Regions from separate parts of the Homo sapiens genome. Here all the other regions are linked to region 2. The links are contacts of gene promoters, found by promoter capture Hi-C in blood cells and fetal thymus (Javierre and others, 2016). All regions are on one chromosome and are shown on one strand. The core of a region is centred on a gene start or on the middle of the fragment in contact, and the rest is flanking DNA. Distances in the headings are between cores, read along the strand shown. Region 1 holds the start of APOA2 (apolipoprotein A2). Region 2 holds the start of FCRLB (Fc receptor like B). Region 3 has its middle 4.4 kb from the start of OLFML2B.

The links. The method cuts DNA at HindIII sites, captures the fragments that hold promoters and counts their contacts. A CHiCAGO score of 5 or more calls a contact.
Region 1: a contact is called between the fragment with the promoter of APOA2 here and the fragment with the promoter of FCRLB in region 2, in 2 of 17 cell types (naive B cells and neutrophils). The highest score is 6.3, in naive B cells.
Region 3: a contact is called between a fragment that was not itself captured here and the fragment with the promoter of FCRLB in region 2, in 1 of 17 cell types (naive CD8 T cells). The highest score is 5.1, in naive CD8 T cells.

The regions. Positions count from the first base shown.
Region 1 is chr1:161,222,378-161,226,667 of GRCh38, reverse strand. APOA2 (apolipoprotein A2) reads left to right here and starts at 3,040. Exons shown (of 4, transcript NM_001643.2): 1 at 3,040-3,073; 2 at 3,243-3,318; 3 at 3,618-3,750; 4 at 4,146-4,290. The coding sequence starts at 3,267. The coding sequence ends at 4,263. It overlaps TOMM40L (translocase of outer mitochondrial membrane 40 like), which reads right to left and starts at 608. Exons shown (of 10, transcript NM_032174.6): 1 at 532-608; 2 at 64-313. The coding sequence starts at 178. RefSeq lists enhancers at 563-632, 1,093-1,202. The HindIII fragment of the contact is 2,953 bases long and covers 2,130-4,290 here.
Region 2 is chr1:161,719,666-161,723,429 of GRCh38, reverse strand. FCRLB (Fc receptor like B) reads right to left here and starts at 1,886. Exons shown (of 8, transcript NM_001002901.4): 1 at 1,769-1,886; 2 at 1,580-1,675; 3 at 727-777; 4 at 421-441; 5 at 1-63. The coding sequence starts at 757. RefSeq lists enhancers at 825-924, 1,005-1,104. The HindIII fragment of the contact is 7,241 bases long and covers 1-3,764 here.
Region 3 is chr1:162,026,139-162,030,441 of GRCh38, reverse strand. No RefSeq gene overlaps it. Among named protein-coding and RNA genes, the nearest start is that of OLFML2B, 4.4 kb to the right of the region's middle. The HindIII fragment of the contact is 3,406 bases long and covers 624-4,029 here.

The sequences.
Region 1 (4,290 bases), core at 1,791-4,290, 500 kb after region 2:
GCATTCAAGACCCTCCACTCCTCTGCCCCTTCATCCTGAGACACCCAAGTGCCAAGTTCTCACCTTTGCATAGACGGTGCAGCTCATCGAAGCTCCCAGGGTTGGGCAGGGGTTCCTCTCGGCGGGGGCTCCGGCGGGGCAAAGTCCCCATTGGTGCCAGGCCCAATGTGTTCCCCATTTTAGTCCAGAGGACTGGGAAGAGCCGAGGTTAGCCTGTGAAAGGACGCTATTGCCCCTTTACCCCCCAACGGGCCCCACCCCCCATTATCCGGCTCCCCAGCCTCAGAAACTTCCACATGGTCCGACGCTACACCTGGAACAGGAAGAGTAGGGAAGGAGAGCACTCATGGAGAGACAACCCTAGGCACACTCCCGCCCCATCTTTGATCTCTCACCCCCACTTGTCACCCTTGTCCTCTCTCCCTTTCTCTGATCCTAGCCCCCACCACAGACTTCACCTAGCTCCCTAGCCTCTCTATTCTTCATTCCCAGGCCCCAAGACCAGGCCCGCAATGGTGCAGTATCCCTTACCATCTCAGACCATCATGCTGCCCCTTTCCCCCCGGCACACCCCGGTCATCTTGATGGGGGCAGCCATCTTGAGTGATGGCAGAACTGCAGCTTCACGCTGCATTCTTAGCGTGGCCGTAAGCGCCATCTTTGAATCTGGCAAAGAAAGCTGTCAAAGACCCAACCCAACCCTGATTGGGCCCCGCCCAATCAATGAAAAAAAAAAAAAAAAAAAAAAGCCTCGCTATTTACCATGGGCCAATGGGAAGGGAGGAAGAAAATGAGTGGCAGGTCTGACGGCCCAAGAGCTTCAACCCTGGAGCTGCAGAGGCGGGCAGGACTTGATTGGTGGCCCCTTAGACTTAAGTGGAAGGCTTTAGATCACTAGGCCTCTCCAAGGTCGGAAAAAAACTTGTGAGCGTACAAGACACTAGAGGGAGCATCTTGTAGCTTGGGCCACTGAAGCTCCTTCCACCCATGTAGTTTCATCCATGAGAAAAGTGGAACTACAGCTTGTAGACTGGCATAGTGTGAAGGGTGGCAGAAAGAACGATTATGAAGACTTCTTTGGAACCCTGGTTCATTTCTATCGCTCCCTTCTCTCCAAAGAACCCATGGGAAATCCTCCTCACAGCCCTCCACAGCACACCTCCAAATGAGTACTACTCATTAAGCGCAGCACTCCCTAGAACAGGGACCCACCCTTCTCTTCTGGAGGTCTACATCTCTCGAAGTCCCCGCTCTTGACCACTTGGTGGAATGGAAACGGGTGTGAGAGTTTGGCGCAGAGGAGTAAGTTCTAGCAGAACTATTCGCTGAAACAGCTGCTTTCTGTATTTAACCCTTCCTTCCCTGAGTCCCAAGGCAGAGTTGGCAAATAAAATCTAGGAATATGGAGCCTGGCCCCCAAAGGCACTCCATCCCAGGACCAGGGACAAGCCAAAGGGCTGACCTCAAGCACTAAGCGCTCCACAGGGGAATAATTGAAAATGGAGTAAGAGTTCTTGGTCTTGGAGGGTGAAGGGTGGGAGGAGGGAGAAGATCAGGAAAAATAACTAATGGATATTAGGCTTAATACCTGGGTGATGAAATAATCTGTACAACAAATCCCCATGACACAAGTTTACGTGTGTAACAAACTTGCATATATAGGCCAGGGGCGGTGGCTGATGCCTGTAATCCTAGCACTTTGGGAGGCCGAGGCGGGCAGATCACCTGAGGTCGGGAGTTCAAGACCAGCCTGACCAACATGGGGAAACCCCGTCTCTACTAAAAGTACAAAATTACCCGGGCGTGGTGGCGCATGTCTGTAATCCCAGCTACTTGGGATGCTGAGGCAGGAGAATCCTTGAACCCGGGAGGTGGAGGTTGCAGTGAGCCGAGATCATGCCATTACGCTCCAGCCTGAGCAACAAGAGCAAAACTCCGTCTCAGGAAAACAAACAAAAAAACCTGCACATATACTTCTGAATTTAAAACAAAAGTTAAAAAACAAAGATTTCTTGGTCTCTGGTCACTACCTCCCTCATCAGCTTTGCGCCTCCACTGTCACCCTCAGGAATGTTCCACATACTCAGCGAGTATGCTTGGGGGGCAAAAGGGTGAAAGATACAAAAGCTTCTGATATCTATTTAACTGATTTCACCCAAATGCTTTGAACCTGGGAATGTACCTCTCCCCCTCCCCCACCCCCAACAGGAGTGAGACAAGGGCCAGGGCTATTGCCCCTGCTGACTCAATATTGGCTAATCACTGCCTAGAACTGATAAGGTGATCAAATGACCAGGTGCCTTCAACCTTTACCCTGGTAGAAGCCTCTTATTCACCTCTTTTCCTGCCAGAGCCCTCCATTGGGAGGGGACGGGCGGAAGCTGTTTTCTGAATTTGTTTTACTGGGGGTAGGGTATGTTCAGTGATCAGCATCCAGGTCATTCTGGGCTCTCCTGTTTTCTCCCCGTCTCATTACACATTAACTCAAAAACGGACAAGATCATTTACACTTGCCCTCTTACCCGACCCTCATTCCCCTAACCCCCATAGCCCTCAACCCTGTCCCTGATTTCAATTCCTTTCTCCTTTCTTCTGCTCCCCAATATCTCTCTGCCAAGTTGCAGTAAAGTGGGATAAGGTTGAGAGATGAGATCTACCCATAATGGAATAAAGACACCATGAGCTTTCCATGGTATGATGGGTTGATGGTATTCCATGGGTTGATATGTCAGAGCTTTCCAGAGAAATAACTTGGAATCCTGCTTCCTGTTGCACTCAAGTCCAAGGACCTCAGATCTCAAAAGAATGAACCTCAAATATACCTGAAGTGTACCCCCTTAGCCTCCACTAAGAGCTGTACCCCCTGCCTCTCACCCCATCACCATGAGTCTTCCATGTGCTTGTCCTCTCCTCCCCCATTTCTCCAACTTGTTTATCCTCACATAATCCCTGCCCCACTGGGCCCATCCATAGTCCCTGTCACCTGACAGGGGGTGGGTAAACAGACAGGTATATAGCCCCTTCCTCTCCAGCCAGGGCAGGCACAGACACCAAGGACAGAGACGCTGGCTAGGTAAGATAAGGAGGCAAGATGTGTGAGCAGCATCCAAAGAGGCCTGGGCTTCAGTTGTGGAGAGGGAGAGAGCCAGGTTGGAATGGGCAGCAGGTAGGGAGATCCCTGGGGAGGAGCTGAAGCCCATTTGGCTTCAGTGTCCCCCAAACCCCCACCACCCTCTTCCTAGGCCGCCCTCCCCACTGTTACCAACATGAAGCTGCTCGCAGCAACTGTGCTACTCCTCACCATCTGCAGCCTTGAAGGTGGGTGTGATATGGAGAGGGGGCCAAAAGGGAGAATGTGCTGGTGGTTATAGCTACCTATCTGCCTGTGCTCTTATATCCAGGTCTGGCAACCAAAGGGCTCAAAAGGAAGATCATTCCCTCTCTAAAGCCCAGAAAGCCCATCCAAAGATCTGGCTGGATACCTTTTTGGGGAGGGGGCAGAGAGCTGGGGTGGGTACTGGCAGAGGTATGGCAGGAGGCCAGGATTCACTGCTGTGGACCCAGCTGAAAAGAGTGTGTGTGTGTGTGTGTGTGTGTGTGTGTGTGTGTGTGGGCAGGAGCTTTGGTTCGGAGACAGGCAAAGGAGCCATGTGTGGAGAGCCTGGTTTCTCAGTACTTCCAGACCGTGACTGACTATGGCAAGGACCTGATGGAGAAGGTCAAGAGCCCAGAGCTTCAGGCCGAGGCCAAGTAAGTCTCAGGGCAAGGGGTTCAGGGGCTGTGGAACTGTGGAGAGAAAGAAGGGAAGATGAGAGGTCCCACAGAAGTCTGAACCCAGGGGTGGGGATTAGGGCAGATTAGGCTTAAATTGCAGAGAAAAAGTATTTCATCACCCAAAGATCCCACACGTCTCTTAGATAGAGAGGAACAGCAAGAACTGGGCCTTGAATTTCAGTCTCTAGAGTCTGTCCCTCTACCTAGCAAAGGTCTTGACTCTATTCCTACCTAGGGGCTTTGCCATGCGATGGACCAGGCACTAGAGTTTGGGGACCTGAGTCAGTCTGCTCTGACCTCCCACCACCACCAAGGCCCCTGCCAGTGCCTAGGGTCCCTCAGATTAAACTCTAATCCCCTCACCTATCCAGGTCTTACTTTGAAAAGTCAAAGGAGCAGCTGACACCCCTGATCAAGAAGGCTGGAACGGAACTGGTTAACTTCTTGAGCTATTTCGTGGAACTTGGAACACAGCCTGCCACCCAGTGAAGTGTCCAGACCATTGTCTTCCAACCC
Region 2 (3,764 bases), core at 637-3,136:
GCTCCCCTTTGAAGATGGTGGTCCAAGGTGGATGTAGAGACAATATGGGCTTCTCCAGAGTAGCTGGGGTGGGGAGTGGGGTGAGAGGGGGCAGCATGCAAAGAGAATCAAGGTGAGGTGCCCAAAGAAACGACCTGAGTTTGGGAAATCTTAGGAAACCCCAGCTCGCAGGCCCCAGCCCATGTACTAACCCATCCCTGCAGGAGAGGAGATCACATTCATTGGGTTACAGACTACCAGTCCATCAGCCAGCACCCATTTCTAAATGCCTTCAAGCAAATTTAGTCCCAGGGGTTGACGAGAGTGGGAAGAGACACTATCCCAGCGCAGCCAAGAAGTGAGGAGTCTACTTGAAAAGGTCACTTAGGGGGTTGGAGTGGAAGCTGTAGAAAATTGGGATGAGAAATTTATAAGACTCACCAGCTTGCCCACTGCTTGGAACTGCAGAACAGGAAAGAAGGAAGAGGAAGGAGAAGGAGAATATTGGCGATGAGAGGAGAGAGACTCTTGACGACAAGAAAGGCTGAATGGTCCCAAAACCTGTTTTTCTTCTTCTGCCCCTGGTTTCCCAAGCTCTGAGAAAGCCCCTTCTTCTTCACCCCTCCAAAAAAAGATAATGAACCACTTGGAAACTGAGGATTGGATACCCACCCTCCTCTCCCCATACCTTGGTCCACCCTATTCTCCACCACCCAAAGCTCTTCTGCTGCCTCACTGTGGACTCACCCAGGAGCAGAAGGGCTGTCAGTGGCCACATGATGGATCTGACTGCAGCAGCTGCAGAAGGATGGAGATGCACTGGCATGAGATGGGGAACAGAGAGAAAGAATGTGGCCAGTGGATGCCACTGAGTACTAGGAGACATTGCTGCTTCTCCCACCCACTCCTAGTTCCTGAAGATAGCAGACCAGAACCAGTGGGAGACAGGCTGAATATCAGGTATCCCAAGTGCCAGGCACTGTCTCATCTACCGCATCTACAGCCACCTCACAGCTCAGGCCAGCCCTGACTACTGAAAGGAAGGCCTGCAGAACTTGTGCCCTCCACAGCACAAGAGAGCCCCATAGAACCCCAGGCTCCAGCAGATGACCCCGCCATCTTCAGGCTCCCATTGACATCCCACTCCCATCCCATCCCTTCTCCACCTTCCAGCCAGCCCTGCAAGGCTCAGCTGAGGAAGACACGGCCTCATGTCCTTAAGGACCTTTTTCCTGCTCACTCCTGATGACAGACATTGGCATGAGACCTAGAGAGGTCAGTGTTCGGTTGCCTGCCCCCAGAGCTCACATCCTGCCACAATGAGTAGACGAAAAGGCATGACTCACCAACCACCCTTCACATCCCTATCATCTAGTTCCCCAGTCAAGGATAGAAATGCAATGTGTTTCTTCTTCCTCCCTTCCTGAAATCTTGAGTTCTCATAAATTCTTAAATTCTTAAGAAGTTAGAAAACTCTTCTTTCCTACCCATCCCAATGAGCTCATCCTGTGGCACTTCCAATCACTTGTTCTTTTCTTCCTTCCTCCCACCCTTCCCTGCAACCCCTCCCCAGCCACGCCCCAGTTCCAGAACTCCTGACCTGCAGCAGAGAAGTCACTGCATCGGCCCCTCAGAAGCCTCTCAGATCTGACCTCGGGGCTCTACTTCTTGTGCTTTCTGAGCCATGTGACCGTACCTGAGCAATGAGGAGAACCTGAATTTTCATGTAAATACTTAATGAATTTTCCAGCCTGATAGTGTGTCTCCTTGGACTCTATCCTGTCCTTACCTGTGGTTGTTTAGAACCGGGGCACCTTGATCCCTTGGAAATCTGATGGGAAGGAGATCAATTATCAGGTACTGTCAACTCCCAGGAAGATAGTATCTTCCCCTCTTGCTGATGCCTGAAGTTCCACTCTGAGAGTCCCCTCATATTTTGCTTAATGGACTAGCCCCTTTTAAAAATGCAAATGCCTCTTAGGAAAATGTGACTGGTCATTTAAATTATGCTGGTCACTTCAGATCATGTTTTGAGTGCAGGTTTTGATAAAAGAGATAGAGTCCTGTAGATTTCAAACAAAGTAGGGACATATTTGACAATGTGCCCAAGAGTAGGGGAGGCAGAGAAGAACTAATTACTGGGAACAGGGATGATCACCTGCCTGCTTTAGGAGTGCCTGGGCTGACCAGCACTCTTGTGCTTCCCCTCCATCCTAATAATTCCTCGTCTCAGGGCCAGTGTGTGGCTTCCCACATGATCCACAGCCTGCCACAGAGGTCTGACTTCTGCACCAAGCCACCACCTCAATGGTAAGAATGCAATGCAGTTGTCAGCTGTCCTCTTAGGCAACACAAGCTGGCTCTATTTTGGCTTCTCATCCCCCAGAGCACAGATCTCAGCCCCTTTACTCGATTCAGAAGAAACCTTAGTACACCAAAACTTTGTGAACTGTATAGTCGTCCCTAGAAACCTCTGGAACCATCCATACTGTTCATATTATACAGTGCTCAGAATTTGACTTGAAAAATTTCCCACGAAATATTTATTTATTCTAGGCTCTCCTCTAAGTTTTTCCCAAAGTGAGTCTTTTTACTCCATCTAGGACTTTTCCCCAGAATTTCTAATTCTTCACTCCTTTACAATGCAGAAAAATTTAGAAATTATCATTTGTAACTTGAGCAATTATTTGAGGCCTATCACAACATAACATCTGGACAATATATGTCACCATTTGATAAGCATTCTGGTGATAAAGTGTTCTCAGTGATAATTACAGTAATGAACTAATGCTGTTGTTGCTGATGACAGCTCACTTTAGTGTCTCGGCATGTGGCAGGCACTATGCTAAGTGCTTCACAGATATTACTGCACTTAATTCTTGTAAGGCCCTTTGAGGAAGAATTATTAATATCCCAATTTTGCATATGAGGAAACTGAGATGATGAAACTGGGATTTGAATAGAAGTCTGTCTCCAAAATCTGTTCTCTTATCTCTCTGATTGTCAGGGATTCAAGATGCTGCTCATGGCCGGCTGTCATTATTGGTCTTTGCAAGTTCCCCCTCTTATTGTCTTACCTTGTTGACTTTCACCCACATTATTGTCCTCCTCCCCTCCACATAAGCACCCACTGTAAAATGTTTACTGTGTGTTCCCATATACATGCTATTTTTTTTTGTGCTTTAAGTTCTAGGGTACATGTGCACAACGTGCAGGTTTGTTACATATGTATACATGTGCCATGTTGGTGTGCTGCACCCATTAACTCGTCATTTACATTAGGTATAACATGCAGTTTTTAGCTTTGAGAAATATTTAGTGTTGTTAATTTACATAAGTGGCATTGTGTTCTAGATATTATATTCACTTCTACTTTTAAAAATTAATCCCAGATGTTTCAAATTTGTTCAGATTGCTCTACATGCATCATGTTTATTGCTTTTGACTGCCCTAATATTCTTTTTTTTTGAGACGCAGTTTTGCTCTTATTACCCAGTCTGGCATGCAATGGCATGATATCAGCTCACTGCAACCTCCACCTCCTGGGTTCAAGCAGTTCTCCTGCCTCAGCCTCCTGAGTAGCTGGGATTACAGGCGTGCATCACCACGCCTGGCTAATTTTGTGTTTTTAGCAGAGATGGGGTTTCACCATGTTGGCCAGGCTGGTCTTGGACTCCTGACCTCAGGTGATCCACCCACCTCAGCCTCCCAAAGTGCTGGGATTACAGGCATGAGCCACTGCGCCCAGCCATGACTGCCCTAATATTCTATGCTTCTGCTACACT
Region 3 (4,303 bases), core at 1,077-3,576, 310 kb before region 2:
ACTCTCTTGCCCCCAATCTGTCAATGGCCCCTCAGTGCCTGTGAGACATACTCCTAGCTCTCTGGGATGGCACGTAAAGGCCTCCACAACCTGGCCTCTCACTCTTTCACTAACTTCATTTCCTCTCACTCTTCGTCTTGTATTTTACACTCCAGCCTCTGCCTACATCACAACCTTCATATCTTGAAATCCCAGTCCTTGTGGTCCCCTTGGCCTGGAATGCCCTTCTCTCCTCCTCCACACCTTCTTTCCCTGACCCCACTTCCCTACTTCTGTCCCTCAGGCACCATTGTCCTTTACCTGGCAAACTCCTGCTCCTCCTGGAAGGTCCCCCAGAGCACCCTGACACCACTCTCCTCCCATAGACAGTTGGATTGGGTGGCCATTACCTTGGCCATCCTGTCAGTGGGCCTCCACAGTGTCTGGCACTTGTCCATTTATGTGTCTCTCTCAGGAGACTGTGAGATCCTTGAAATATTATCTTGAATTAATTATTATTAATGTCTTATTCATTCATGTTTCTTTAGTGTCTAACTCAGGACCTGGCACATAGATATTATACTCAATACCTGAGTGGATTTCACTTCAATTAGCTTTAAACTTAAATTTTATTATGTAAAGCTTAGTTTAATAAAAAGAAATTACCATGCTTGGCGTATGAGGAAATGCAAATTGTTCTTAAAACTGGGGAAATTCAGAGAAGGAAAAACTTATTTTCTTTGCTAAAATATCTTGAGGAAAAACATACTCTTCTGTACCCTTTCCCAGGATCAAACATTTATAATCTTTATAACATGAGTTCCTGAAGGCAAAGGTTTTTTGTCATCTTCATCTTTGTGTATTCAGCAGTTCACAGAGTGCCTGGCTCATAATATATATATTCAATAAATGAATTAAACTGAATTAAAGGAGAGAGAGAATGTAGAAGATCAGAGGCAAAATAAGAAGCCAGGAAAGCAGCAAAGCAGGGTGACCAGGGGAAAAAAGACCTCATTTTCAGTTGTGCTTTCCATCATTCCTTTCCAGCATTTTTATGGCAGTTCCCTGGCACAGCTCCCACTCTGCAGCGAGCCAGGGAAAGGAGATGGCAGAATGATGTTGCTCGTGGGACTTTGCCTTGCTCTTTGATTCTGCTGCCGTGGGGCAGGTGCATTTTCTCAATTACACACAAAGGTGGCAGGCCATTTCTAGCCACCTTGGCCCCACCTGGCAAATGAAGCCTTAATTTTCAACAGACAGACATTTCAGAGCAAAGTCAGGAGGCTCCTAGGTAAACGGGAAAACAGATGCTCTTGCCAGATGCAAACTGGCTCGTGAGGGATGGTGGTTGTGGTTGCTGAGGGATCCCCAGAATTCAACAACCTGCTAGCCAGCCACAACTGGTGAGGTCCAGGGTCTAAGATAGATGAAGTGGCACACTTACGGCTTTCTGAGACCCAGTTCTTGGAACATTTCCACAGTCTGTCCGTCTCTAAACCTGTTTCCTCATTTGTAAGAGGAAATGATACTGACTCAGGGGATTTCTGACCGTCAAATGATGCCTGGCACATGGGAAGCACTCAGTACAGAGTCGCCATCATACATATCACTGTGTTGGTGCTTCAATGACTTCATCTGTTAACCAGGGAGGGCAAGACTTATTTTACACCATGATGCGAGGATCCAGTGACGTGGAATTCATAGGCTCTGAGCAAAAGATGCAGGGATTTTTATGTGAATTTTATGCCGGTTTCCTCTATCCTGTGCTTTCCAGCTATGTTTTTTTTTTTTTTAACACAAGTAAAAAGCACTTAACCCAATTTGCTAAAGCCAAACCAAGCTCATCACAGAATCATCAGTTCAGGTTGCCAGGCAGGCAGGTAGAAGCAATGCCATGAGCAGTGTATCTTGATTTCTGAAAGACAGTGATAAAAGTCTCTCAAGAAATGCTTGTAGACATGATGAAGACATGTGGACTAGGCACCAACACCCATGACTGCCTGAACAGTCATACACCAAAACGGTTAACATCAATAAGGAGAGACTTTTCCTATTATGGAGGTAGAGCTCTAGAATATGGCCCTATCTGAAGGAAGATGGCTTTTTAAAATTAATCATTTGAACTAAGACAGAAACTATGCTTAGTGAATTTGGAAATTATGCAAAACCAGGACAAAAGCAAAAATAGCAATATTTCAACAGGATGAAAAAATGGACCAAAATCATCACACTGTTACAGTAAAAATGTAAACACCTATACTTGGATTAAAAAAAAAGAGAGAACATAGCTGGAAAGCACAGAATGGAGGAAACCAGTAAAAAATTCACACAAAAATAAATTTAAAAACTACACTTAAAAGATAAATCAGTGTGAGTCGTTGGTGCAATCTGGCTGCCAAAACTAAGGTAATCTTAGGCTGCATTAATAAAAGCACAGTGCCCAGAAAAAAAAAGAACAAATTGTTTCAATAGGTTCTAATATCTACTCAAACTGGAGTCTTTCTAGAGAGAAAATAACCAAAATAATGAAGAGTTTGGAAGGCCATGTGGTTTGAGAAACAGTTGAATATAATGGAGATAAAAGATGAAGAAAGTGGGCTAGTGATGTTGAGAAAGAGGATATTTAGAAGGTACTTAACCTTTTTTTTTTTTTTTTTTTTTTTGACAGAGTCTTTCTCTGTTGCCCAGGCTGGAGTGCATTGGTGTGATCTCGGCTCACTGCAACCTCTGCCTCCCCGGTTCAAGTGATTCTTCTGCCTTATCTTTCCAAGTAACTGGGATTACAGGCGTGTGCCACCAGGCCCAGCTAATTTTTGTATTTTTAACAGAGACAGGGTTTTGCCATGTTGGCCAGGCTAGTCTTGAACTCCTGACCTCAAGTAATCCACTTGCCTCGGCCTCCCAAAGTGTTGGGATTGCAGGCGTGAGCCACCATGCCCGGCCAGTACTTAACTATTTATCTTTAAGTGAAAGGAATGAAACTCTCCGTGAGAAAGTCCTTAGACATATTCTGTGTAGGACTGTAGGACTGGACATTAAAAGGTGACTTTAAAAGTAGACCCTAAAGGAAATATATTTTAGTTAGATAAGAGAAAGGACTCATGGTCATAAGATGGCTGCCACAGCTCCTGGCACTTTTGAAACAGCCCCTATAAACTTTATAAAATTAACCAGGGAAGAAGGAAAGGGAAGAAATGAAAATAAACCAAGTTCACAGCACATTCAGCAGTAATCGTGAGGTCTACTTGCTCTCTGACCTGTTTCCTCATAGTTACTCTGTGCCTATTGCCTCAGAATCACATAGATCCTGTTAAAAGATTATAAAGCCCCTTAACTGTTCTATAGAAAACAACTTGAACATTATGAAACATTATGTTTTCCCTTTGAGATACTCTTTTGGGTCCTGCATACTGATGAAGCTACTGACTCAGCTAGTTTGAAGGACCCCATGAGATCCTGACTCACCAAAGAAGGCAGTTTCCACATCCTGATGATAGAACTTTGTTCCATCGTCTTGGCCCAACCAATTAATAACCTCAATTTTTTAGCCACTCACTCTCCACAATCCCCTTAAATTAAAACGCCAGCCCAGAGCTCCTTGGAGAGATGGATTCAAGGGTCTCCTCCCATCTCCTGACGTGGTGCCCTGCAATCATCAAATTCTTTCTCTGCTGCAAACCCTGCTGACATAGTGTAATTGGTCTGTTACTGCACAGCGGGCATAAGAACCTGTTGGTCCTATAACACTTTGACTGTGGTCAAAGACACAATCAAAGACAAGAAGTGAGGGAAGAGTAGCACCAGAAAGGTCCTCTCTCCTATTTGTTTCTTTTATCAGGAAGCAAAATATCTTGTCCGGGTGGTTACCCCTAGCTGTAAAGGAGACTGGGAAATTGAATGTCTGGCACAGGGGTAGCTGGGACTTGCTTAAATCAATTATGACTAGGTCAAAAAGCCAATGCTGTAAGAATAATGGAGTGGAAAATGGAAAGAGCTTGGGTCCTCGCTGACATCACTGAGTTGCTGAATTAAATTTTAAACAGCCAAGCTTGTCTTCTTAGAGTGGGATAATAAATGTATATTTGACTGAGACATTCCTAGAAGGATTTTCTATCACTTGCAGTCAAATGCACCCTAATGGATACAGAGATGGTATTTATAAAGGTAACTGAGCCTACACCCAGTTGGACAATTCGTAATTTCCATTCATTCAACCAATATTTATTTAGTGTCCACTTTGTTCTAGGCACTGGTTAAACTCTGAAGATGTAATGGTGAGCAAAACTAACAAGGTCCTTGCCCTCTTGAATTTATAGTCTGGTGG